4 separate regions of the Homo sapiens genome follow, and all the other regions are linked to region 1. Evidence: promoter capture Hi-C in 16 types of primary human blood cells and fetal thymus (Javierre and others, 2016). All regions are on one chromosome and are shown on one strand. The core of a region is centred on a gene start or on the middle of the fragment in contact, and the rest is flanking DNA. Distances in the headings are between cores, read along the strand shown.

Region 1 (7,049 bases), core at 1,374-3,873:
CTCTTGGAAACAGCCCCAGAAAAATACTCCCACACCCCCCCTCCCTGGAGCACACGGAATTATTCCACAGGAAACCTGCCCAGGTGTGCTGGAGACCCCCACCCAGCCCTGTGTGAAGTCATGCCTCAGCTCTGCAGACGCCCCCATCCGGGTCTCCCCAGACGACAGGCCTGTGAGCCATTCTTCCCACTCTCCTGGCCCACCCCCAGGCTCCAGACAGGTCCCCACTTTTCCCTATTTCCTCCAGACACAGAAACACAGGCGGCTCATAGGTGCCTCAGGAGACACCCATAGTCGAGAGCAGACTGAGTGTGTGACCCAGTATCTTGGACTATGCCCAGGCCTTTGCCCATGTGGGGGCCTCTTCCTCACAACCAGGTTTTCCTATTGCCTCCCGCTTTTTGTCCAGGAGGTTCAAGATCCCCCCTGCTCTGTCTCGGGAGCCCCAGAGCCCCAGGGTCCTAGGCCCCGGGGCGGGCGGGGGGGGGGTGTCACTGGAGGGCCTACCCAAGCCTTTATTTCTTTGTGCCTAAATCAGCAAAGCCTCAGTCTTTTCTCTGGCTCTCACTTCCCTGTCACTTTGCTAAGTAATAATTTCCATGTCCAATTCCATTTCTTTTCTAGTTCTGAAACCTCTAAGCTATCAGCAAGAGGATAGTTCACATGAAAACTAATTACACAAAATCAATATTTAATCACAGACCAACAACCTGATCCTGCAGAAAAATCCTTTAAAAACTCCACCGCCCTGTACAAATACTTATTCCCTATGCTTATTTATGGACCCCATTTTTGATGGGGGTAATTTTCATTTTTAATTTCAAAAAAGAAAAAATATATATGTCTGTAAACTTCCACAACAGGAAGGCCCCGGGAAAGGTCTTGGATCTGAGCTTGCTCTGGCTGAGTTTTAAAGTTGTTGTTTTTTCTTGTTTGTTTATTTTTAATTAAAATTTTTTTTGGGCGGGGGGCAATTTCTTAGGAATTCTGCCGCTACCCCAAAGTTGAGCCCATTTCCCCCCACCCCCGGCATGTCGGTTCTGGCATACTTAGCACTGCCTTCCTAGCCGCAACTCAGGGGAGCAATGAATCTGCGCGTACGACATGGTAACTTTTTAACTCCTGCCCGCGACGGTGGAGTGCTTAATCTAAGGTTTTTAAATAAAAAGGGCTCAGGGGTTGGTTTTATTATAACGTTTATTTCATTTCAGATTTCATGCGTAATTTAGCAAACGCTAGACAGACTCGGGCGATAAACACTTTCTTTTGTGGGGGGGGAAAGGCATTTTCATACACCACGCTTAATTTTATTTAGATTTAATAGCGATATCAGGGGCACTTCAAAGAAAGTTCTTTTTTCGCCCTTCTCCTAAGAATGCGAATCTGCTAGCAAAATCGCCTCGTGCTATTTTATGGCAAGGAAAATTAAAGGCCTTCTCCCCCCTCCTTCCCTACACACACTTTAGGGAGGAACACACACACACACACACACGCATGCACAAACACACGCACGCAGGCGCGAGCACACGCACACAGGCGCACAGAATAAACACCTCTATCCTCCATCACCTCTAACTTCCAACTTCTAATTGCAAGATAGATTTCAGCCTCTGTGGGGATCAGGACGATCTAAACATTTTAACTAAGATTATTGGGATAAATATTTCATAAAGAGCAGGGCAGATATTAAATTACTCCTATTGATTTTAGTATCACAGCCCAATTCCATTCCTCGGCCTCTTCAGTTTAATTGATCTCTTAAGGAGGCCAACTTCGCACCCGCAGAGGGTCTGGGTCTTGGACCGGGTGGCCCAGGGCAAGGTGTGCGGCCCGGCGGGTGCGCCCTCTTCGTGCGTGTCTTCTCGGGGTTCCCAGCCGCCTCGCAAGTCGCTCCGGTTACTGGGCTCAACCGATGTGCTCCCCCATAAAGTGGCTGAGTGACTGTGACTCCTTGGAGCCCACGCCGGCCGGTGAGAACCGGGAACCCCAGGCAGTGGGGAAGGGGAACAATTGTGAACGCCCTAGTGACGGAGGAGTGAGCAAGCGCCCAGGTCTCTCGAGGAGAACCCTAACTTCGAGGTTCCCCGTCTGCTTTACCCTCCAAGAAAATCCCAGGGCCGGCTAACTTGGGCGCCGCTAGCGGAGAACGGAGTGTTCACCCCGGAGCCGAAGTGCAGTAGACACTTAGCGACTTTCCGTGGCGAGTCTAGGGTCTTTGCCTGGCGACCTCATTGTCTGAGCGCCCCGTACCGCTCACCGCCCACCTCCCCGCCCCCTGCCCACCCGGTGGGTCTCGCTCCAGTTGGGGGTGGGGAGTTGGGAACAGTGTGAATGGGAAGGGGGTGAACAAAGCCAAGCTCCCGCCATTCTCCTCCGCCTGCACCCTCTCCAGCTCGATGCGCCCGGAGGCCGGGGCGCGCCCCCAGCGCACTGACGCCGGACCCCGAGGAGAGGCGGGCGCAGGGGACCCCAGAGCTGGGGTAGTGCGGGTTCGTGGCGGGGGCTTCGGCAGCCAGGACCCCGGACCACCTTAAGAGCGAGCCCCGCCCCGAGCCCGGAACTTGGGCGGCGCTGATTGGTGCAAATGTAATGGCTGAAATTGATTGCTGAAATGCAAAACTTGTTGCTGCTTCTCCCGGCGCTGGGCGAGAGGCAGACACAGAGAGGGGAGCCGAGACCCTCGGAACGCCCCACGCAGAGCCCCCCCGCTAGTCGGGAGAGGGGTGCGCAGACCCCCCAGAGCTGCCCCCGCGCCCCCCTCCCCCCATTCCGGGCTCTGAGAGCGCAGCGGGAACGCCTTAGCCTGCTCGCCCGGCGTGGCCCCCCGACCCGCGTACGCCCCCCTCCCTCAGGTCCGAGAGGGACTCGCGAAGCACCTCAGCGCGGAGGCAGGGAACCGGAGCCTTGGAGCGACCCAACCCCTCGTCTCGCTGCCCTCCCGCGCCTGCAACGGTGCGCGGAGACTCCGGCGAACTCAGACACCCAACGGCGGAGAACAGAAGCGGCAGGCGGCGGACGTGGCCGCGAAGCTGCGCGCCGAACGCAGCGCACCCGCTGCCGAGCAGAGGAGCCGCGCCTTTCCCCGACCCTCGGCTCCAGCCCCCGGCGCCTGCCGCCTCGCAGCCCCTCTGCGTCCTCGGCTCGGGGGCCGGCACCGGCGATGCCGAGCGGAGCCTCCAGTCCTCCGACCCGCTGAAGAAGCAGCAGCCGCTCGCCCGGAGCCTACGGGGATTGTGCGAGCGGATCGTGCTCGGTGGAGGCTCGGGCTGCGGGGCGCGGGGACTCCGGGGGGCGGGGGGAGGGACCGCTCTGTCGGTGCCCGGCGCCAGCCGCGGCTTTGAAGGGTCTCCCTCCCCTGCCCTTAGCAGCTCTGCCACGGACTCCGGGAGGCTGCGGGCGGCGTCCTGAGGGCTCCCCAGCAGACCCAATCGGACTTGAGAAGGTGATCGCTCTGCTCTCCCAACCCCCTTCCCTCCCCATTCCCCCCACTTAACTTTTTGTCTCCGTTCATCCGCGGCTTCGTCCCCTCCCCGCAGACCCACCCGCGGCTGTGACAACCGCCCGGGGCATGGGCCCCCCAACACGGCTCCTAGAGGCCCCGCGGCCTCGCAAGATGTGAGAGGCCCTCCCCGGGCAGAATCGGAGCTTCAGGAGAGGAGCTAATACCCCGCCCCCCGTCCCTCACATCAGGCGGGGTGGAGGTGCGCGCTGAGCCCCCGCGGTGCTGAGCGTCCCGGAGCGCCCAATCCTGGGCTGGAACGAGTAGCTGGCCGGAGGCGCGCCGCGGAGAGCCGGCTGTCATGCCCTATTGATCCCCCTCTGCCCCCCGCCAAGTATGTTTGGGCTGGACCAATTCGAGCCCCAGGTCAACAGCAGGAACGCTGGCCAGGGCGAGAGGAACTTTAACGAGACCGGACTGAGCATGAACACCCACTTTAAGGCCCCGGCTTTCCACACTGGGGGGCCCCCTGGCCCTGTGGATCCTGCTATGAGCGCGCTGGGCGAACCCCCGATCTTGGGCATGAACATGGAGCCCTACGGCTTCCACGCGCGCGGCCACTCGGAGTTGCACGCAGGGGGGCTGCAAGCGCAGCCTGTGCACGGCTTCTTTGGCGGCCAGCAGCCTCACCACGGCCACCCGGGAAGTCATCATCCCCACCAGCATCACCCCCACTTTGGGGGCAACTTCGGTGGCCCGGACCCCGGGGCCTCGTGCCTGCACGGGGGTCGCCTGCTCGGCTACGGCGGCGCAGCCGGAGGCCTGGGCAGCCAGCCGCCCTTCGCCGAGGGCTATGAGCACATGGCGGAGAGCCAGGGGCCTGAGAGCTTCGGCCCGCAGCGACCGGGGAACCTCCCGGACTTCCACAGTTCAGGTGCCTCCAGCCACGCCGTGCCGGCCCCATGCCTGCCGCTGGACCAGAGCCCTAACCGAGCCGCCTCCTTCCACGGCCTGCCGTCCTCCAGCGGCTCCGATTCCCACAGTCTGGAGCCACGGAGGGTGACGAACCAAGGAGCCGTCGACTCGCTGGAATACAATTACCCGGGCGAGGCGCCCTCGGGACATTTTGACATGTTTTCGCCCTCTGACTCCGAAGGGCAGCTGCCTCATTATGCAGCGGGTCGCCAGGTTCCTGGGGGCGCTTTCCCGGGCGCCTCGGCCATGCCCAGAGCTGCGGGCATGGTGGGCTTGTCCAAAATGCACGCCCAGCCACCGCAGCAGCAGCCCCAGCAGCAGCAGCAGCCCCAGCAGCAGCAGCAGCAGCATGGTGTGTTCTTTGAGAGGTTCAGTGGGGCCAGAAAGATGCCTGTGGGTCTGGAGCCCTCAGTGGGCTCCAGGCACCCGTTAATGCAGCCTCCCCAGCAGGCCCCGCCACCCCCTCAGCAGCAGCCCCCGCAGCAGCCGCCACAGCAGCAGCCGCCGCCGCCACCCGGGCTTCTAGTCCGACAAAATTCGTGCCCGCCTGCGCTCCCTCGGCCCCAGCAGGGCGAGGCGGGCACGCCCAGCGGCGGCCTGCAGGACGGAGGCCCCATGCTGCCCAGCCAGCACGCGCAATTCGAGTATCCCATCCACCGGCTGGAGAACCGGAGCATGCACCCTTATTCCGAGCCTGTTTTCAGCATGCAGCATCCTCCTCCGCAGCAGGCGCCCAACCAGCGGCTGCAGCATTTCGACGCGCCCCCCTACATGAACGTGGCCAAGAGGCCGCGCTTCGACTTTCCGGGCAGCGCGGGAGTGGACCGCTGCGCTTCGTGGAACGGCAGCATGCACAACGGCGCTCTGGATAATCACCTCTCCCCTTCCGCCTACCCAGGCCTACCCGGCGAGTTCACACCGCCTGTGCCCGACAGCTTCCCTTCGGGGCCGCCCCTGCAGCATCCGGCCCCGGACCACCAGTCCCTGCAACAGCAGCAGCAGCAGCAGCAGCAGCAGCAACAGCAGCAGCAGCAGCAGCAACAGCAACAGCAACAGCAGCAGCAGCAGCAGCGCCAAAACGCGGCCCTCATGATTAAGCAGATGGCGTCGCGGAATCAGCAGCAGCGGCTGCGCCAGCCCAACCTGGCTCAGCTAGGCCACCCCGGGGACGTGGGCCAGGGCGGCCTGGTGCATGGCGGCCCGGTGGGCGGCTTGGCCCAGCCGAACTTTGAGCGCGAAGGCGGCAGCACGGGCGCCGGGCGTCTGGGCACCTTCGAGCAGCAGGCGCCGCACTTGGCGCAAGAGAGCGCGTGGTTCTCAGGTCCGCATCCGCCGCCCGGAGACCTGCTGCCCCGTAGGATGGGCGGCTCGGGTCTGCCCGCTGACTGTGGCCCGCACGACCCCAGCCTGGCGCCCCCTCCTCCGCCTGGTGGCTCGGGGGTGCTGTTCCGGGGCCCTCTGCAGGAGCCGATGAGGATGCCCGGAGAGGGCCACGTGCCCGCGCTGCCTTCACCGGGCCTGCAGTTCGGGGGCAGTCTGGGAGGCCTGGGTCAGCTGCAGTCGCCCGGGGCGGGCGTGGGGCTCCCCAGCGCTGCTTCGGAGCGCCGGCCCCCGCCGCCGGACTTTGCTACGTCTGCGCTCGGGGGCCAGCCGGGCTTTCCGTTTGGTGCAGCCGGCCGGCAGTCCACGCCGCACAGCGGTCCAGGCGTGAACTCGCCCCCCAGCGCGGGAGGGGGCGGTGGCAGCTCTGGTGGCGGCGGTGGCGGGGGTGCCTACCCGCCGCAGCCTGATTTCCAGCCCAGCCAGCGCACCTCGGCCAGTAAATTGGGCGCGCTCTCGCTGGGCTCCTTCAACAAGCCCAGCTCCAAGGACAACCTGTTCGGCCAGAGCTGCCTGGCTGCGCTCTCCACCGCTTGCCAGAACATGATCGCCAGCCTCGGGGCCCCCAACCTCAACGTGACCTTCAACAAGAAGAACCCGCCAGAGGGCAAGAGGAAACTGAGCCAGAACGAGACCGACGGCGCGGCAGTGGCCGGCAACCCGGGCTCGGATTACTTCCCAGGAGGGACTGCTCCTGGGGCCCCAGGACCCGGAGGCCCGTCCGGGACCAGTAGCAGCGGCTCCAAAGCCTCGGGGCCGCCCAACCCTCCAGCCCAGGGGGACGGCACCAGCCTCTCCCCCAACTACACCCTGGAATCCACGTCGGGGAATGACGGCAAGCCGGTCTCCGGGGGCGGCGGCCGGGGACGGGGTCGCAGAAAAAGGGACAGTGGTCACGTGAGCCCTGGCACCTTCTTTGACAAGTACTCGGCGGCTCCGGACAGCGGGGGCGCACCTGGGGTGAGCCCAGGGCAGCAGCAAGCGTCAGGCGCAGCCGTCGGGGGAAGCTCCGCAGGCGAGACGCGCGGGGCACCGACGCCCCACGAAAAGGCGCTCACGTCGCCATCCTGGGGGAAGGGGGCTGAGTTGCTCCTGGGGGATCAGCCGGACCTCATTGGGTCCCTGGACGGCGGGGCCAAGTCGGACAGTAGTTCGCCAAACGTGGGTGAGTTCGCCTCGGACGAGGTGAGCACGAGCTACGCCAATGAGGACGAGGTGTCGTCCAGCTCTGACAACCCCCAGGCACTAGTTAAAG
Region 2 (7,049 bases), core at 1,227-3,726, 1.1 Mb after region 1:
GTGCACAGTTCGGTAGCAGTAAATTCATTACTGTGATGTGACTGATTGATAGAAGGGGTGATGGGTCGATTGATTCCAGTTCTACTACGAACTTTATGCATAAACTCGGGTAGTTTCCTTTTGCCTCAGTTTCCTCCTCTATAAAATGAAGACAAGATGCTTTCTCTGACTGCGTCTGAAGAGGTCTGGGAATCAGGTACGGGACGAGTGAGTTGGGACTTGCTTGGATGGAATGACAGACACCCAAGGTAAACACGCTTAATGGGGAAAGGAGAGATTAATTGGTTTTCAACATTAGTTTGGATACCGAATAGTTCAAACATTCAAAGGAAAAGTTTTCATGTTTCTCCCTTTATCTGTTCTTTCCTCAACTCATCACAGTGGCCTTAACTGTCTCCTACTCCAGACACACCTTCTCTAATGTGTCTGGTACCCTCCCTACAAACCTCAATGGAAAAAGAGTTTGTGCTGCCAGGTTCAAATACCCATCTCACGGATAAGGCTCTCATTGGCTCTGCTTGGGTCATGTGCTTGCCTCACGGACCAATCACTGTCATCAGAGGTATTGGATGCTGTGATTGGTCAGCCCTGGACCACGTAACTAACCACTTTCTGCAGCCAAGGTGAGCCCGGTCTATTTCTAGGAGAATGGCAATGGGAATGCTCTCTAGGCAGATGAAAGCCAACAGTCCACGTCAGGAGGTGAATGTGTGTTGGAAAGATTAAAGTGACAAGCAGGAAGGATAAGAATGATTAGTCTCAGAATAAAGAGACACGGGTTGCCTGTAGCTTACACACGGACTTAGTCATTTAACAATCTTTTCACAGTGCGTGGTTAATCCTGTCGCTCCATGCTGGAAACCCTGTAAGGTCTTCCTGATCTGGGTGCTGCGCGGAACTCTGAGCTCATTTTGGATCCTCTTCCTATCCTTCAATGCCCCAGTCCCACGGCGCCTTTCTGTTTCAAGACTGTGTCTCTCCCTCTCCTTCTTCAAGGTCTTTTCTTTCTTTCTTTCTTTCCTTTCCTTTTCTTTCTTTCTTTCTTTTTTTTTTTTTTTGAGACGAGGTCTCACTCTGTCGCCCAGGCTGGAGTCTCGGCTCAGTGCAACCTCCATCTCCCGGGTTCAAGCGATTCTCATGCCTCAGCCTCCCGAGTAGCTGGGATTACAAGTGAGTGCGGCAACGCCTGGTTAATGTTTGTAATTTTAATAAAGACAGGGTTTCACCATGTTGGCCAGTCTGGTCTCAAACTCCTGACCTCAAATGATCCGCCCCTGCCTCGGCCCCCCAAAGTGCTGGGATTATAGGCGTGAGCCACTGCCCCTGGCCCCTCAAGGTCTTTTCACAAATGTTTCTTCTCGCCTAGAATGTTCTTCCCCCAAATCTAATCCCAATCAATCTTCTGGTCTGTTTTCCCCATACACCACAGAAACAGCACCGACTTGTTTTTATTTCTCTTGCCCACCAGGGCTCGGCACGGCACATGGCACAAAGTAGACAGTCAACAAATCCTTCTGAGGTGAGTAAATAAATGAGTACGTATCATTCCAACAGTAAAAAGTTGTGAGTTTTCTGCCTTTGGCACACAGATTCACTCATTCTTTCATTCATTCAATATTGCATCATGGGCTGGGAGATATAATAGTGAACAAGAAAGCATTCTTGCCTTCAAGGAGATGCTGGTGGGGGAAGTGGGCAGAGTCATACCAGAGTTGTCACAGAGCCACCATGGGGGGCTGAGGGAGCAGAAAACAAGACTTGGGAAGACAACAAATACTCTGCAGAGAAGGTGAATCCAACATGAAAACTGATAGATTAATAGAAATTAGGTGGATGAAAGCAGGCAAATTGCCATGAGGAGGGGGAATGGAGTGGAGAGTGGGTAATTCTAGGCAGAGGGAACAGTAAGTAGAACTGTTCCCGACTACACGCAGTAAGGGAACTACTGCGTGTAGTCGGGAGCGGGGGGAGAGAGAAGGAGAAGAGAGGAAGGAAGGGAGAGTGAGCATTTGTTGGGGGAGAGTGAGCGGCGAAGATTCAGAGGCTAAGTCAGGAAAGAGGGAGATCCACAAGGCAAACCTGGAACAGCTTTGAAGCCATCATCAGGAGGCTGGGCTCAATCCAATGAGGCCATGAGACCCCAGTGAAGTACATTAAGCAGGGGCATGACATGGCCACATTGTGTATTGGAAAGAAATCTTCTTCATCTGGCCCATCACCTTGGGGACTCGGGCTAAGAATTAATATCAGTTTAAGGGTTTCGATTTAGACAAATTAATGACGCCATAGTAGAAGCAGCTGGGCAAGTCTGACAGTTCTCCACCTTTTAAAGTCAATATAATCATCACTGACTTTTAGACTCCTCACACCATAGACTCCCAGGAGCACAGACTCCTAGAGATAGAGAAACACTGTCTGATAGACCCAGGAAAGTGGAGGCAAGTGCTTCAGTATTGCAGAGAACTATGGGAACCAAAGCTGGGTATGGTGGCAAGAGCCTGTAGCCCCAGCTACTTGGGAGGCTAAAGAAGAAAGAGTGCTTGAGTCCAAAAATTCAAGCCCAGCCTGGGCAACATAGCAAGACCCTAGTCTCAAAAAGAAAAAAATAAAATAAATATAAGGCCTATGGAAACCAGAAAAATATAAGATGGAGCTGTTTAGCCACAACATTGCAGAGGCCTGAAACCACAGAATTATAAACCAATAACATCACTCTGCCAGCACATGGGACTCAGTGGGCTTACACAGCCCAAGTCTTTATGAAATGACACAGCATCCTCTCCGGGAGGTGGCCGTGCTCTCCCTAAACCTTCTTTATATGGTGTTCCATCTTTTCCCCTTCTGTGGCTGTCTCTGTGGATGCCCCCGCTCCATACCTCAGGACTGCTGTACCCTACAGCGGCTCCCAGCACCCCACTGGCACCAGTGTATATCTAGACCCCAGTCTTGCCCACCAGGAGCATAAACATTTTCTTAGCTAGCACTGGTCCTTAAGATAAAAGCTGGGGTTTTTTTTCCCCCCTCCCAGGGTGCCAGAGTTCAACTCCATTTTCTCAGATTAAATAAAATTTCAAAGTGTCAGTCCCTGGCAAACGACAAGTTGGAGGGTGGTTGATTTTTCTAACCCGATCTTCAGTCCAATTACAATTTTTAATCTATATGTAGATAATGGTGAACAAAAACCCCACAGAAACGTCAAGAGTGAGGAGGTTATTAGCTTAGTTTTAATTACTGCTGATCATTCTTAGCGACTGGAGGGACCCAGCAAATTAGGGAAAGGAGGCATTCCTCCAGGAGAGTTCAGCGGGGCCCCTGGGCTGCTGTTCCAGCAGAAGCTGTCCCCGCAAAGAAACATTGCCTGGTCCAGAGAATGCACGTCCTTCCCCACCAGCCCTGCCACGACTTCCTGTGGAGAAAGGCCAGAGGACTTGGGCACAATCAATCCAGCACCAGCTGATGAGATGTGATCTCAGCCCTTCCTCCTTCGGCGTCCCTCCAGGCCACCGCCTCTCCCTGGCTCCCCCACTGCCCGTGTTTCAAACACACCTCATGCTTCTTCTTTTGTCTGGATAAAAGTAATACATGCTTATCATGTGAAAGAAATTGGAAAATAGAAAAAGGTGAAATATGGAGGGAAGAGAAAAACCTATTCTAGTCTCACTACTTACAACTGCTAATATTTTGGGGTAGTTCCAGTCTTGTGTGTGTGTGTCTTATATATATACTCATACACATATATTATACATATACATATATAAAATATGTAAGTATATAATTGAACATTAAATGTGCATAATATATAAAAATATTTATATTTTAAATATTTGTATTATAAAATATATAGAAATAATTTATAATAACTAATAGAAATATAAACATATTTATATTATTTTAAATATTGTATTATAAAATATATAAACAACATATAATTATAATTATTAATAAATCATAATGTATAGCTGTAATTACATATGTAATACATACACAGACAAATTGGAATTAGCTATAGTACTTCTTGTGCCATGAATGTTACTTGTGAACTTCATATTAGTGGCTACAGAATCTTGTGTAGCCTGGATACACTGTACGTTTCACTAATCCACCTCATTTTTGCACATACAAAGCTAGTGAGCATTTTAATAGAGATGACAATGTTTTAGGTTTTATATTTTACTCTGGCTTTTTTTTCAAATAAAGTGGTTTTCTATGTTATTATAAACTTGGTAACTATCATTGTGATGAATTATTTTACCTCTACCAGTATTTTTGAGGAATCAATTTGTGCCAAGCCCTGTTCTAAGTGGTTGAGATGTAAAAATCAAAATCCTTGAAGGATTAGAATCTTCTAGGGTTTCTGACCTTATAAAATACAGCTTTTATTAAACTGAAAATATGTGTTTAAACTAGCCATTCTCATGTTATTGGACGTTTAGGTAGTTTAATGTTTCTCAAATTTGTATATGACACTATCATGGACATTTTGTATGTAAAGTATTATCTTTCTTCTGAATTGTTTCTTTTTCTTCTTATACATTTATTTAAATGCATTGAATGGATCTAAGGATATTAATATTTTTAAGATTTTTCATAAGAAATCTGGTTTCCCATAAATGGAGTTTTAGGGGGTAAAACTGATCCTGAACCATCTCAAAAAAAGTCACACAAAAATAGACCCTTCAGGGGCTCTATCAAGAGATTACCTGGAAACATACTGCTACTTTTAATACTTCAAAGTTTGTCAGAAGTATGTAATGAAGGAATAACAATATCTCATGCATGAATGAGCTGTACAATTTTTTAAACTTCACATTTATTATTTAATTTCTGAAAAAAATGAGAACTGTAAAATAGTGCTTCCAAAAGTTTAGTATAAGCATAACTCGTAGTCGGCCAAGTGATTTTGCATTAATAGAGACATGACTCTATTTTCAATTTTTATTATATATTTATGTTTTTGCATATTAGAGAAAAATATGAGTAAAATATCAAACCCACACTTCTATAAGATTAGAGTTTAGAAATGGACTAAGGAAGAATAAGAAGTGGGTTAAAACTCAATTTAAAGCAAGACATTAAGCAGAGATGCCTACAAGCCACCCATGAATATGGCGACCATGGGGAGTTTCGAAGTTAACAGGAGACGCTGCACATATCAATGAGACACAGGAGGCTGGTGATGAGATTGTTACCTGCGTTAGCTAATGGAATACCAAAATGAAGAGAGGCAGGAGGATGGTTTGAGACCAGACTGGGCAACAGAGCGAGACCCTGCCTCAAGAAGAAGAAAGAAGCAAGAAGGAACAGAAGAAGAAGAGGAAGAGGAAGAAGAAGAAGAGGAGGAGGAGGGAGGGGGAGGGGAGGGGAGGTGGGGAGTGGGAGGGAGAGGGAGAGGGGGAAGGAGAAGGAGGAGAACAAGGAGGAGGGGAAGGGGAAGGAGGAGAAGAAGAAGGAGGAGGAGGAGGAAGAGGGGAAGAGGGAGAGGGAGAAGGGGAAGGGGAAGGAGAAGAAGGAGGAGAAGAAGATCCAAGATTTCAGGGAAGTTGCAATTTATTAAGTATCCATGTAAGGCAATGCTCCAATGGCCAAACCACATTTTCCTTCACCCAAGAGATTAAAAATGAAGTTTCAAGCCTTTTTGGCTGCACATTAAAATTACCTGAGGAGATTTTTCAAAGCGCGATGGCTGGGCCCTCCCCTAGAGGTTCTGCACCTATAGGTCTGGGTGGAGCCTGGGCATCAGCGTTTTTAGGGCTCCCTCACTGGTTCTCATGTGCAGCCAAGGCTGAGGAATTCTGGTCAAGGCCACCTTCTTTCTGGACACCTCTGGATGTTGTCCTGTCCACAAAATAGAGATTAGAGTCCACGCCCCGACTGGTCTCCCTCTGCACCGGCATTCTGAAAACTTCCCCAGCCCTCTGCTGCTGGATAATGAGGCTAATGACCAATCAAGCCCTAATGAGGATGGATTCGTTTATTAAGCAGCAATTATGTGCCAGGTGCTTTCCCCTTCCCAAGCCCAGGAGACTCAAGGGCAAGCAGGAGACGACCTGGGGAAGGCTGGGGAAGAGGGGGCAGCCAAGAGAAGGCAGAGAGCCACTGCATCTTAGGGGGTCTTCCGGACGAGCTTGGGGTCCAAGCACAGGGGGCGTGCTAGAAACACAGCAGCAGCTCATGTAAATACCCAGCCTTTAATGAGGCAGAGTGGACTTGAGGATGGATTGGGTGCACGTGTGAGGGAATCCCATCTGAGCATGGCCAACAAGCTTCCAGGCAGAGAATGTGCTGCAGGAAAAGTGGGATGGAGGGAAAAGGGCAGCCTGTGGGGAGAAGAAACCCAACCGGGGTTGGGCAAAGGCCATTAGGGGAGGAAATCACACACAGCTCAGCAGACCATCTGGGTCCCTCCTGAGACTCTAGGATCTGGAAAGCTCCCCATCCCCACAGGAGAACAGGAATGCAAGTGAGAAACTGGCCTGAGCATTCCTCAAGAATGAGGGATAAAGTTTAGGAAAGGATTTGATGACTACCCACTCACTCTTCTGCTGAGACTCCCTGCAATACAACCCCAAAATTATACCCAAATGGGAACCAAAGTTCTGCTTATCAGTGAATGGACAATCATAAGATCCTTTTGCTCCTGGGTTTATTGACAGGCTAAGCTGAAGGATGCAGCAGAGAGATGGATCAGACACCTTGTCAAGCAACGTGTTCTTTGTCTCCAAAATCAAAGCCTGCTTTTCATCCTGAGAAATTCAGGGTTTGGCATCTTGGAGGCACACGGTAAATACTTCTAAGCATGAAAGATATGAATGGGATGAATAGGGATGACATTGATTGTGGTAGAATGGAAGGGATGAAGTGGAAATGATGGAATGTATGGAATAAAATGCAATGGAGTAGAATGGAATGGAGTGGATTCAAATGGAACGAGATGGTACAAAAAATATAATACAATAGAATAAGATGAAATGGGAAGGGTGGAATAAAGTGGAGTGAAATGGAATGGAATGGAGTAGAGCGAAGCAGAAAAGAATGGAGTGGGGTGAGAT
Region 3 (7,049 bases), core at 2,801-5,300, 1.0 Mb after region 1:
TGTTTGTTTGTTTTTGAGATGGAGTTGCCCAGGCTGGAGTGCAGTTGCGCGATCTCAGCTCACTGCAGCATCCGCCTCCTGGGTTCAAGTGATTCTCCTGCCTCAGCCTCCCAAGTAGCTGGGATAATAGGCGTCTGCCACCATGCCCGGCTAATCTTTTGTGTTTTTAGTAGAGACAGGGTTTCACCATGTTGGCCAGACTGGTCTTGAACTCCTGACCTCAGGTGAGCCATCCACCTTGGCCTCCAAAAGTGATGGGATTACAAGCGTAAGCCACCGCGCCTGGGCAAGACGACCCTTTAAGAAAGACCTTAGAAAGGAATTTCGTACCTCTCCCCGACTCTTCTGCCCTTTCTAGTAACCATTTTTTCCAGCCCTCAACCAGAGAAAAATAAACTGAGATCCTTATTTGGTCACTATAAAATATATATATAAAATACATATTGTGCCACATTTCAGTTATGCACAGGGTTACTGTACCACAAAATCGGCACCCTCTTGCCTGATTCTCTCTAAGCAGAGTTTTATCCCTGGGGAATCTCTGGCCATCCCCACTGGTCTTTATTTGCTTGATATACCTGGTAGGGTACACGCATTTAGGACCCCTCGCAGGATCTGGCCATCCTTCTCTCCCTACAGGCAATCCTGAGCACACAGGTCCCAAGATTTATATTTACACTGGGAAATCAGAAACCTCACTTGAACCTGGAGCTGAAGAATAAAGAATACTTTCTTCCTCATTTGATTGTTATTTGTCAGGCATCGAACCTTTGTCAGCCCCAAACCCTGCAGGGATGGGGAGATAAATGGCAGATCAGAATTAGGCATTCCAGAATCACCTTCCCATTGCTAACAAAACTTACTCCCAGTTGCTGCTGGAAACTCCCGTTGCTGACAACAATTAGCCCCAGTTGCTACTGGAAAGCGCTGATGCCCAGAGAAGTAAAGCAACTAGCCTAGTGTCACACAGCTAATAAGCGGTAATAGCCCAGATTTAGTCCTGCCAATCCCATTTCTGAGTCTACTCACTTCATTACTGCACTACTGTTTTTTTTGTTTTGTTTTGTTTTTGTATGACAGATAGTGGTTTGGAGGCTGTGAGGAAATTGTGTAACCCTTCTGGGTTGGAATTTTCCTCTCTGTCAAGTAAGAGAGACATTTTCAAGGTTGCTCTGGGTAACAACACCCTGAAATCTCAAGACGATGAATTCCTTGATACAAATGTCAACACCCCTGTCTGCTCCCTACACAGCCTGGCATATGGTAGGAGCTTAATGAATGTTCCACTTATGACCAGACTCTCTCCCTTACCCTCAGTGGGCATGAGTCTGCCTTTGTTGCTAATTCTGCACTTGACTCGTAAAAGCATCAAAGGCAGGGAGGAAGGATAAGAGGGGAAAAGGGAGGATTATTCCCACTTTATTTTTAGTTTAAATAATAGAGATAAAGAGGGAAAGACTGAGATAAGGGGGTCATCTTTCCCTCCCCCCTTTTAAAGAAACCTTAATTTCTTTTTTTTTGTACTTTTTTTATTATTATACTCTAAGTTTTAGGGTACATGTGCACAACGTGCAGGTTTGTTACATATGTATACATGTGCCATGTTGGTGTGCTGCACCCATTTACTCGTCATTTAGCATTAGGTATATCTCCTAATGCTATCCCTTCCCCCTCCCCCCACCCCACAACAGGCCCCGGTGTGTGATGTTCTCCTTCCTGTGTCCATGTGTTCTCATTGTTCAATTCCCACCTATGAGTGAGAACATGCAGTGTTTGGTTTTTTGTCCTTGCGATAGTTTGCTGAGAATGATGGAAGAAATCTTAATTTCTGCAGAGGCAAGTCCTTTGACTTTCCACCTGTGACTTCCCATTTCTAATCTGCAAAATGGGTACCTAGCACCTACCCTCCTTACTTTGCTAAACACATTCAACCATGACCTTCAAATGATACCTTGCCACTTCTACACTGAGGAGCCTTGGAAGGGCAAGGCATTCTGCTTCTCAAGCTTCACTCTCCTCTCCTATAGCATGGACCTCATGTTCATGCTCACACCTACCTCACCCTGCCATTAAGAAGATGAAATGACACATAATGGAAAAAAGTCTCTGCAGCCCTCAGCAGGCTGAGCTGATGTGAGCAATGCTGATAGCAAGATTCTGAATGCCCTTCCCCCAAGGACTCAAGATAACCTCCAAAGCACCCACAAGCTCAGTCCCTCATTTTGTCCTCCTAACAACCCCCAAGGCAGCCATCATCACATGCACTTGGCAGGTAAGGAAACCAATGCCTGCAAACTCAAACGGGGCTCCAGCCTCAGCACCATCACCCTTTTGCTAGACAACCCACCCTGCTCTGAGCCTCGGTCTTCCTCACCTGTGCAATGGGGCCAATATCTCTCCTCTGCAGAATTGCTGCAATGTGGTTTCCGGCACATCCTAGGTGCTCACATGCTCTTGCTCTCCCTGGGAGGGTCAGGCCTTGCCTAAGGATACCCCGCACTTGAGTGTGGGGCACCTGGGTCTTGAACGCAGAGCTCCCAAGATCCAGTTCCACCCCCTCTGACTGCAGAAGGCACTGCCCCCACGTTCTCGCTGGGAGTCCCTGGGAAATACTTCCATTGTAATTCCTTGGACTTGAAGCAAAAATTAAAGTTGCTGACAGCCTGCTCACCACCGTGCCGATTCGTAATATTGATGAATCAGGAGCCGGGCCCGGCTCTGGCTGTGGGTACAAGTGCCCAGAATATTCATGAGCCATACTACCATTCCCTGATGGCATCACTTCCTCCTTACGGTGTCATCATTCCACCACACGTCACTTGTTCCAACGTGATCTTCCGATGCCGCCCACACATCCCAGCCTGGGCAGACAGCCCCTCCTGCAGAGAACTAAATTCTAGGCCACAGTGAGGACAATTGGGTTGTCATCAGTGCACGGGGATATCATGGGACAATTACAGGGCCTGGGCTCCCACCAACACCTAGCAGGAGGTCATCTTCATTCTCCAACTTGGAGCTCTGGTCGAAGAAAGCAGCTTCTCATTCAAGCCCATGGAACAAAGCGACAGCTTGGTAACCCCCTCTCCCACCCTCCAAGGCCTGACCTGGACATTTTGGGAATCAGGGACATATTTCTCAATAAATACCCTTATCCCAGAAGGAGGCAGCCTGCCTGTCCTTGCACCCTGCAAAAGCTTGTCTGTGAGATGACATGAGTTGCCGTGTGCTTTTCTGGTTAAACATTTATACTACAGCTTTTGGAGATAAATGATACATACATGTGTCTGCATGATTACGATTAAATATTAAGCAGACACACAGACCTGGTCGGCCTGAAGGAAATGAAACCCGGTGACACAAATGTCAGATCTGAGAGGTGCTGAAGGGGGGATAATTAAGAGCATCAAGGTTGACCCAAGGCCAGTCGGGTCCGAGGCCACCCCAGCAGAAAGCAACCACCTGCCTCCCATCGGTCCCCTAATGAAGCTGAATAGACACACTGGTGGCTTTTGTCTTCTTGCCTTCTTTCCCCTTCTTCCCTCTTTCTTTCTTCACTCTCCAAGGCAAAGCCAGCTTGGGCAGCCTTCCCTACTCGTCTCTGCCGCACCACTCCAAATCTGACTGCATTTTTAAATTGTAGTTGATTAGGTTTTACGAGCTGACTTGCTCGACGTGGCACAAGTCGCAGTATATGTCAGAGGCCTGGCAGAGACTTGAATTGAAATGATTCTAATTACGTGTGATAATTTTTGCATTCTAACATAAAACAATGTTACCCAAAAAAAATCCCATTACAACGGTTAAAAGACAAATCATTTAGCAAGTCCCTTTCTTTATTACTTTATTAGACAATTTACAAGGCAACATTTTGAACATTGGGACCGGGCGATGGCCCAAGTCTATCCAACCGTAAGTTGCACTAAGAAAAGAGAGTTCATCTCTTGTCATTAGTCAGAGAGTCAAATGCAATCACGGGGACTCCAATTGGCTTGTCAGATTAGCCACCGTTTCAAATCATTAGCATGGCAGAGCATTGCAAAATGCAGGGCGCTCCGAAAAGAAGCATTTAGCTGCCACCCAAGATGTTTTAGAATGCTTCCTCCAAGCAGCGTCCAAGTACCCCAGATTCCCTCCCTGAATATCCCCCGTACCCGCCCATCCCCAGCAAATATCCTGCCCCATTCCTCGCAGCTTGGTCATGTGATCTGTTCTAGCCAGTGAAATCAGAGCAGGGGTGACTTGTGTCACTTCTGGGTAGAATCTGCAAGAGATCGTGCATGCTTCTCTGAATCTCTTTTCTCAACTGCCTTCGGACTAGCAATGTCCACTGACCTGAGTTATGGGTAAAAAGTATTTTAAGCAAAGCATCAGCCACTTTTCATCACGTAATGATAAAAGTGTGAGTGATGAACATGTAACTTGAATGAAAAATAAACCTTTGCTTTTTATAGGGTGACTAACCTTCCTGGTTTTTGAAGGTCTGCGGGGGTTCCTGAGATGCATGACTTTCAGTTCTAAAACTGACAGTCCCAAGTAAATTGTTTTGGGGTGCCTGAGACTGAGAGATTTCCTGGAATGCAGGATTCTAGTGCTAAACCTAAGAAAGTCCTGGGCAAACCAAAACAAGTTTTGGTCACCCTCTTGTGTCCGGAATTCGTTCCTTCCGGTGGGTTCTTGGTCTCGCTGACTTCAAGAATGAAGCCGCAAACCCTCGTGGTAAGAGTTACAGTTCATAAAGGCGGCTCTTCTGGAGTTGCTGGTTCCTCCAGGTGGGCTCGTGGTCTCAGTGGCTTCAGGAGTGAAGCCGCAGACCTTCGTGGCGAGTGTTACAGCTCATGAAGGTAGTGCCAACCCCCAGGTGTGCAGCAGCAGAATTTTCTGTGAGGAGCCAAGGAACAAAGCTTCCACACCGTCGGAGGGGACCCAAGCTGGTTGCCGGTGCGGGCTCGGGTGGCCTGCTTTTATTCCCTTATTTGGCCCCACCCACATCCTGCTGATTGGTCCATTTTACAGAATGCTGATTGGTCCGTTTACAGAGTGCTGATTGGTCACTTTTGACAGAGCGCTGATTGGTGTGTTTACAAACCTTTAGCTAGACACAGAGTGCTGACTGGTGCATTTACAATCCTTTAGCTAGACAGAAAAGTTCTCCAAGTCCCCACCTGACCCAGAAGCCCAGCCAGCTTCACCTCTCACTATCTTTGGAAGCCATAGATAATTTTGGAGATGTTTGTTACCTCAGCATAACCTGGACTAAGCTGACTGATACACTCTCACTTTACAAACAAGGGAACCAAAGTTCAGAAAGTCAACAGACTTGGTAAACATAGAGTGGCATGAAGGCAGAATGGAGATTTTGCAATCAAATGAGTGGAGGTTTGGGGAGGTCAAAGCGGGAGGAGCACTTACAGCCTGGAGTTCAAGACCAGCCTGAGTAACATAGTGAGACCCTGTCTCTACAAAAACAAAATTTAGAATTAGCCAGGCATGGTGGTGCATGCCTGTAGTCTCAGTTACTTGGGATGCTGAGGTGGGAGAATCACTTGAGCCCAGGAGTTTGAGATTGCAGTGAGCTTTGATCACACCACCACATTATTCCAGACTGGGCAACAGAGTGAGACCCTGTCTCTAAAAAAGTCAAGGTTTGTTTCCTGGCTCTGCTGATTACTGGCTGTACTACCTTGGGAAAGTGTCACAGACTGGTTCCTGGGAAGCAGATGCTGGGGCAGAGTTTAGCGGGCAGCATGTTTAGTAGGAAGTGTTCTTGGATCAACACCTTTGGAGAAGAGGAAAAAGAAGCAGAGTTGGGAACAGGGAGAAGTTGAGCCATGGTGAAGGTTCAACAAAGGTCTCAGCCAATCCTATGGGGCGCTCTGAAACTGGTTGGCCCTTTGGAGCTGTCTCAAGTTGGGATAAGGAGGTCAGGCCTTTATCCTCTTGCATCTATCAGTCATTGGATATGGGTTGACCCCAGAAGGGAGTGAACTTGGGTGATGCAGTTTTCCTGCGCTGGGGCAGCCCTGAAGAGGGCAATTCTCTCAGCAGTTATAAATAAATCCTTCCAGCCAGGCGCAGTGGCTCACACTGCAGCCCTACCTACTTGGGAGGCTGAAGCAGGAGGATCACTTGAAGCCAGGAGTTCAAGGCTGCGATGAGCTATGATTGCACTACTGCACTTCAGTCTGGGTGACAGAACAAGACCCTGTCTCTAAAAAGAAAGAAAGAGAGAGAAAAAAAATCCTTTCTTCCATTAGATGAGTCTAGGCTGTGCATCACAGCCTTCAATACGGTAAGTTACTCAAACACTGTGAACCCCAATCCTCATCTGCAAAATGGGACGAACAGTTCATGTAGATTGCTAATACTGTGTGGATAATTTGTTGGATACTTACCCTATGCCAGGCCCCAAGTTAAGAGTTTTATATGCACTTTAACACGTGGGGATGAAGGAACTAGAACATGTAAGATTCTTAGAACAGTGTCTGGTACACCATGATATATTGTAATAATTATTAATATTAAAGGTATCCCACTTGTACAATTGCAGCCATCTCCTCACTGGCCTCTGCCTCTGCTCCCAGTTCTTCCCCTCATGGTAGGCAGAGGGATCCCTCAAAAAAGGCAAATGTTACGTCACTCTTCTGCTCTAAACTCTTCTGTAGCTACCTGTTACCTTCTAGATAAAGCTCAAGATCCTTCCCATGACATCAAGGCTTTGCTAATCTCTCCCTGTCTACTCCCCCTGCTTCCAGCCTCATGGCCAGGGACATTTAATGGCTTTCCATTTAACAGCTTTTCCCAGCCATCCGCTCCTCTCTCCCGTGTGGGGAATTCCATCTTGTCTTTCAAGACTCAGCTGAGGCATCATCTCTTTCACGAAGCCATCCCTGACCTCCAGGCAGGTCAGACACTTCCTTGAGACCCCCACAGCCTTCCTGGCATGCTCCAACCATGCTACTTGGATTCTTTTTTATCGACTCATAATAATAGTACATATTTATGGGGCACAAGTGATAGTCTGATGTATGCCTACAATGTATAATGATCAA
Region 4 (7,049 bases), core at 3,233-5,732, 1.0 Mb after region 1:
GTCATATTTATAGAGACAGAAAGTAGAATAGAAGTTACTAGGAGCTGGGGCAGGGGAAATGGGGAGTGAGAGTTTAACAGGTATAGAATATCCATTGGGGAAGATGAAAAAACTCTATGGATGGACACTGGTGATGGCTTTGTCCTCCCATCAGAAAGTACTTACCCCTGTCTAACTTTCCTCTCTCCTGCTGCAGTCACCTCTTTTGATCTTCAGGGAGAGAGAGGCTATTCTTAGAAAGTGGCCCTCATGATGATCCTCCCAGCCTCCACATCCTCTTTAATCTCTACACATTCAAATGGTAAAGGTTATGTTATGTATAATTTACCACAATTAAAAAAAAACTTTAAAAAGGGCACTATGCTACTCTGAGCTATTAATACATCTATATCTCAGAAATAATCAACAGTTCATTCATTCATTCTTTCATTCCACAAATATGTATTGAGCATCAACAATGTACCAAGCATGTTTCTAGGCACTAAGGGTAGAGAGTTTGCAAGAGATGAGGACCCCGCCGGTATGAAGAGGACAGAAACTCGGGAGCCAGACAGTAAACAATTAAATGCATTAATAAACAAGGTAATCATAGACAGGATGAGCTGGAAAGGATATAAACAGGGAGACGTGCCAGGGAGAGATGAGGGAGGTTTTCTACTGTGGAGAGTAAAGTCTCGGCAGAGCTCCCTGGGGAAGCAGCACGTCCCCTGAGACCAGCAGGAATCAATCAGGCAAACAGCTGGGAGGAGAACAAGTCCTTCTGTATAACAGACACTCTTGCATATAATATATTTCTATCCCTGCCTTTCTCACCTAACCCAGGCCTCTCTCGTCGTGGTTCCACCCTAGGAGGATACTAGGGCCTAGAGATGGACACAGACATAGTTAAGGCTCAGGGCCCCCATGTAAGCATTTTCCAGGCCACCTCATCAGAAAGTACTTCCACCTGTCTACTTTCCTCTCTCCTGCTGCAGACACCTCTGTTGAACTTCAGGAAGACAGAGACCATTCTTAGGAAGTGATTCTCATGGTGACCTTCCCAGCTGGCGCATCCTCTACAATCTCTACCCATGTCACCCGAGGCCCACAGTGGGGAAAAGGAGCCCAAGGCCAGGCGGTTGTTGTTGCTGAGATGCCCCAACAAGCTGGTAACTGCAGCTCATTAGTGGTAAGATAATTAAGTCCCAGGCTGGGGCCAGCCTGTGAGTGCCTCTAGATCATCCAAAGGCAGTGGTTTTCTTAATGAAAGGTTCTCTGTTACAAAATTGGGCTCCCATCCATCTCCATTATGGGGGGCAGTTTACCTGCTAATACATACACCACACACACTCCCTGGCAGGGGGTGGCGGTGACACGGAGGTGCAGACTGGCTTTCCAGACCCCGAGACACTGATGAACGGCCTGTTCCTACTGCCACCGCAGCACGGGGAACATCCAATCCTCTCGGGGCGGCTGCCTGCCAGTGTCTGGAGGATGAGGGTGGATGGGCACTTGGGATGGAGCACATTTCAGCCAAGACTAGAAAGTTCCTGCCCCAGGGAGTGTGTTTGCTCCTTTCAGGGTGACTTCCAGTTAGGCAACTGGGAGATGGGATTTTAATGCCAGCTTGCTCAGGGGTGTGCTGGTTGGGCCTCCTCTTTGTGGCCCCTATAGCCAGAGGAAGCTTTTATTATTATTATTAATGGAAGTGAAATTCACATGACCCAGCAATCCCACTTCTAGGTATATACCCCAAAGAACTGAAAACAGGGACTCAAACAAACATGTGTACACCCATGTTCACAGCAGCACTATTCACAACGGCCGAAAGCTGGAAACAACCCACATGTCCGTCAGTGAGTGAAGGGATGAACAGACTGTGGTATACCCACACAAGGGGACATTACTCAGTCTTAAAAAGGAGAGGAGTTCTCACCATTCTGACTGGCATGAGATGGTATCTCGTTGTGGTTTTGATTTGCATTTCTCTAATGATCAGTGATGTTGAGCTATTTTTCGTATGTTTGGCTGCATGTATTCAAAAGTCAAGAAACAACAGATGCTGGTGAGGTTGCGGAGAAATAGGAACGCTTTTACACTGTTGGTGGGAAGGTAAATTAGTTCAACCATTGTGGAAGACAGTGTGGCAATTCCTCAAAAATTTAGAACCGGAAATACCATTTGATCCAGCAATGCCATTACTGAATATATACAAAAAGGAATATAAATCATTCTATTATAAAGATACATGCACGCGTATGTTCATTGCAGCACTACTTACATAGCAAAGACATGAAATCAACCCAAATGCCCATCAATGGTAGACTAGATAAAGAGGAAGCCATTATCCTCAGCAAAATAATGCAGGAACAGAAAACGAAACACTACATGTTCTCACTTATACGTGGGAGCTGAACAATGAGAACACATGGGCACAGGGAGGAGAACAACATTTCCCGCGGCCTGTTGGGGAAGGGCGGGGTGGGGGAGAGCATTAGGGAAAAGAACTAACGCATGCTGGGCTTAATACCTAGGTGATGAGTTGATAGGTGCAGCAAACCACCATGGCACACGTTTACCTATGCAACGAGTCTGCACACCCTGCACATGTACCCAGAACTTAAAAAAAAATTAAAGGCCAGGCGCGGTGGCTTATGCCTGTAATCCCAGGACTTTGGGAGGCTGAGGTGGGCGGATGACCTGAGGTCAGGAGTTCAAGACCACCCTGACCAACATAGCAAAACCCCATCTCTACTAAAAATACAAAATTAGCCAGGTGTGGTGGTGAATGCCTGTAATCCCAGTTAGTAGGGAGGCTGAGGCAGGAGAATCGCTTGAACCCAGGAGGCAGAGGTTGCAGTGAGCCGAGATTGTATCATTGCACTCCAGCCTGGGCAACAAGAGTGAAGCTCCATCTCAAAAAACAAAAAAATAAAAAATTTAAAAAATTTTTTAAAAAGAGTGGAGTTCTGATGTACACTATAACGTGGATGAGCAGAGGGGCCTGTTTAAGACCTAGTATCTCCTTCCCCTGCACAGAAACCTCTGATGGCCTGTTTGTATGACGTCCAGAGTACCTGTGAGAGTCTCCAAGGCCCTGTGCCCCCATGTCCTCTGTGATTTCGTTTCTCACCACGTCTGGCTCACTACACTCAGTTTCTCAGTGTGGCCTTCAGTCTGTGACAGGAACACACTGAGACGGAGCAGGACCCCCTTTTGGCGGTCTGCATGCCCCTGCCACCAAGAATGGAAATAGAGGAAAATTCCGAGTTCCTTCAAGGGAAATTCCAGGCACCTAGCTAGCCCTAAGAGGTAAATAAGTAATTTGAGGCTGGATGTGGTGGCTCATGCCTGTAATCCCAGCACTTTGGGAGGCCGAGGCGGGTGGATCAGTTGAGGCCAGGAGTTCAAGAGCAGCCTGGCCAACATGGTGAAACCCCATCTCTATAAAAAATACAAAAGCTAGCTGGGCGTGGTGGCGGGCACCTGTAATCCCAGCTACTCGGGAGGCTGAGGTGGGAGAATTGCTTGAACCCAGGAAGTGGAAGTTGCAGTGAGCTGAGACAGTACCACTGCACTCCAGCCTGGATGACAGAGTGAGATCCTGTCTTAAAAAAAGAAAAGAAAAGCAGCTTGATAAGCAAGAGGGTAATAGTAACAAGGCTAAGACAGGAACCAAGGAAGTTAGTCAGATGTTTGATTCCCCTATAGAAACTAAAAGTAACATCTTAACATATGCCCCTGAGTTGTTTTCCAGAACCCTGAACCCCCACCAATGACCCCCACTGAACAGCTCTGCTGTCACCTAAACCTCAGATAAGGGGGAGCTGATGGCTGAACTCTGACCCCCATTTTTTGTTCTAAATTTCTTCCTGAGGAGTCTGGAGAGAGTCAAACCCCAAAGCCAGTTAATGTTCTTCTCTGCTGACCCCAAATTTTAAACAAAGCTTCTCTTCCTTAACCAGTTACAAATCAGATAGTCTTTGAATCTACCTATGACCTGTAAGCCTCTGCTTCAAGGTATCCTGCCCTTTTTGGCCAAGACCAAGGTGTAACCTCCATGTATGGATTTACAATCTTGCCTATAGCTTCTCCCGACATTTACCCCTGCGTTTAAAAACACTTACCTGCAAGCCATCGGGAGGTCAGGATATAAGCGTTAGCCGTCTGGTCCTCCTTGCTTGGCACCTGGTAAATAAACACCTTTCTTTCCACCACTGCAAGACCTCCGTGTGGATATCTGGTCTTACTGCACCAGGTAACTAGACCCTAATTCAAGTCTATTATGTTGGTGCAAAAGTAATTGCGGTTTTTGCCATGGAAAGTAATGGCAAGAACTGCAATTTCTTTTGCACCAACGTGATATAACAACACTGATAAGAGTGAGAAAGTTGCTTGCATAGACAGGGAGGGCTTTGGGAGAAGGTGGACTCTATCTGGTCCACCTTTGGGGACCAGAGGTCCCCAAACGATGCATTTGGGGAATGCATCGTTTCCTACCATTTTAACAATAAAACTCACAGTCCTGTGCAATGCTCTGAGATGGGAAAAGAATGTTGTTTCATTCTAATACGTCTGGGAAATTTGCTCCAATCCTTTGTGGAGCGTCACGATACATGTCAGAAGTTTAAGTCCCTGACAAGGCCTGCAGTAAAGGCACCTGTTGGAGTCCTGACCTCTGTAACACATTTGAATGTGGATCTGAGCTAGAGTAATTTTAGTAAGAAGTTTCTGCTATTTTTAGCTCTAAGTCAAGAAGTCTCTTTTTCACCTCTTCGTGGCTTGTGGTGAGGCAGAAAAAAAGGGGTAGCAGAAAGATTAGCATTCACTGAGAATTTCCGCTCCCAACATGGGGCTATGTATTTCATACAACTTGTCTTATTTGTTCCTCACAACAATCCTATGAGGTGTGTACAATTATGATCCCCATTTGCAGAGGAGGAAACTGAGCTCAAAATGACTCTGTCATGTCCACATGACTAGAGAAGCCATTTTTTCCTGGCTCTAAGCTAGAGCTCTTTGGGTCCAACCTACCTCATCTTACTACCTGGAAGCTTGACTGTGGTTCCCAAACCTCTGTCCCTATCCAGCCTCTCGATTTCTCTCCAGATCTTCTCCACGCTCCCTTGCCATCCCAGCCTCCTTTGGAAACCAAGGGGTTAACCTCTCCTTCCTGTTTGCCCAGACTCAAGTTCATTACGCTGACTAATTGATTCCGCCACTGCTAATGGAAAATGTATCTGCAAGTAATAGATTAATTGGCCACTTGTGATCAGCTCTCAACCAGAGGATCACTGGTGGTCATGCTAGACCCACTGAGTCAGTCCTTCTGGAGCCAGGAAAGGGAACCAGAGGTTAGACTCAAAGGGATCATGGGGGTGTCCAGAGTTTTACCAACTATCACCCTCACAAAAGGCCAGCCAGCTGGTTCCATCCCAAAGGAGGCAGATTCTGCATCCTAAGTCATTAAAATGCAAGTGCATTAACTTGAAAAGAATGGAAATCTTAACAGCATAATGAACCACAAAATATCAGAACACTGGCACATCAGCTTCCCTTACCCCCAAATGAGGGAAGGGGGGTTGCTTTCCTCAGAAGGTTTAAAGTCATTCGTCATAAAATAACAGCTACCAGTTTGCTCACTGACTATGTGCAATCCACTGCATGGTTTCATTTAAACTTAGCAAAAGCCCAGGCGGCAGGTGCTATAATTATCTCATTCCACAGAAAAGAAACGGGGCTCAGAGAGCTGCACCAACTTGCCCAAGGTAACACAGCAAGGAAGTAAAAAAAAAAAAAAAGTGGGCTGCGGGGAGACCTCAGGTCTGCAAACCCCAAAACCAGATCTTTTATCCTCTATCCCAAGGATCAACAAATGACAACCTATGGGCCAAATCTCGCCAACCACCTGTGTTTGTAAATAAAGTTTTATTGGAACACAGCTATGCCCATTCATTTACATATTGTCTTGGCACCCCAATAGCGCAATGCACCACAAAACTTAAAGTATTTACTATTTGGCCTTTTGCAGGGCCAGAATAAGTTTGCAGACCGCAAGCCAAGTTACCCTTCCCAGCTGGTGCTACTGGTACCTTAATGAAATGAGGGCGGGATGACTATGGGAGAAAAGGCTGGTGTGAACCTGGGGATCCCAAAAGAAACTCAGTCTCCAAGATGCACAGGCTGTTTCCTCAGATTATAAGGAAGGTTTCTTATGAGTCTAAGAGCAGAAAGGAGAAAGGAAGAGAGATAGAGAAGAACAAGCCTGAGCCAGACTTGGAGATGAAGCTGGGTGAGAACCAGATCTGATGACAGAGGGAGTGATGCAGGAAGGAAACCAAACCAGGGAGGCTGGTGAATGCAAATCCGTATCTCAGGACCTACCCTCTTGCTTGCTTTAGGACTCCAGAAACGTTTGCCTCCCTTCAGATACCCTCAGTTTCTCTGCTAGAAAATGGGGGTAATGATGGTGTCATCTGGAGGACTCAGCAGGATAGAGCATACGAAGTGCACAGCAGGCACACAGTAGGCACTCAATAGATGCTTGACAGATGAATGAAGGACTCAGCTAGAGATCTCAGAGGTCAAATTTTGCAGAGTTCCACCTTTGCAGCAATGGTAAGGAAGAAGCTCCCCCGACCCCCTCCTTCCTCGCTCTATGGGCTGGTACGGGCAGTTTTACAAGGCTGAAAGAGTCGCCGGAGGCTGTAAAGACACGAGGGCTTTTTCCTTTAAGTCTTCCCTGTAAGTCACCTCGAAGCATTTCCGGGATCGATTGGCTCTTCTCCTCCTTGTAGGAGCCCTCCCCAGGGAACTGTTTGCCGAAAGGAATCGGCCAGTTTGCATTTAGTCACCTTTATCTGACCCAGGAGATAAATCTCTCTTCGTTTCGTTTTTCTGCAGGGAGGATCCTGGGAGGCCCGCGCCGCACCACACAAATGCTGGAGACCTCGTCCATTCAGACAGTGATTATTCCAAATGAGAGATGATTCGAAGGCCTGAGGAAGTTGGTTGTTCTCAGAAAAGGAAGAGGGCATGTAGAGGCACAACGGCAAAGGTGCATTTAAGCT

The links. Contacts are between HindIII fragments. The CHiCAGO score rates a contact against its expected background, and 5 or more counts as called.
Region 2: a fragment that was not itself captured here is called in contact with the fragment with the promoter of MN1 in region 1 in 1 of 17 cell types (M0 macrophages); the score reaches 5.2 in M0 macrophages.
Region 3: a contact is called between a fragment that was not itself captured here and the fragment with the promoter of MN1 in region 1, in 2 of 17 cell types (M0 macrophages and M1 macrophages). The highest score is 7.5, in M0 macrophages.
Region 4: a fragment that was not itself captured here is called in contact with the fragment with the promoter of MN1 in region 1 in 1 of 17 cell types (M0 macrophages); the score reaches 5.8 in M0 macrophages.

The regions. Positions count from the first base shown.
Region 1 is chr22:27,797,330-27,804,378 of GRCh38, reverse strand. MN1 (MN1 proto-oncogene, transcriptional regulator) reads left to right here and starts at 2,623. Exons shown (of 2, transcript NM_002430.3): 1 at 2,623-7,049. The coding sequence starts at 3,836. RefSeq lists enhancers at 1-214, 4,557-5,102, 5,103-5,649. The HindIII fragment of the contact is 19,591 bases long and covers 1-7,049 here.
Region 2 is chr22:26,736,848-26,743,896 of GRCh38, reverse strand. All of the region lies in intron 2 of MIATNB (MIAT neighbor), which reads right to left. Among named protein-coding and RNA genes, the nearest start is that of MIATNB, 68 kb to the right of the region's middle. The HindIII fragment of the contact is 7,579 bases long and covers 1-6,265 here.
Region 3 is chr22:26,764,917-26,771,965 of GRCh38, reverse strand. The region is part of intron 2 of MIATNB (MIAT neighbor); the gene reads right to left. Among named protein-coding and RNA genes, the nearest start is that of MIATNB, 96 kb to the right of the region's middle. The HindIII fragment of the contact is 1,707 bases long and covers 3,197-4,903 here.
Region 4 is chr22:26,783,825-26,790,873 of GRCh38, reverse strand. No RefSeq gene overlaps it. Among named protein-coding and RNA genes, the nearest start is that of MIATNB, 110 kb to the right of the region's middle. RefSeq lists an enhancer at 6,251-7,049. The HindIII fragment of the contact is 1,107 bases long and covers 3,929-5,035 here.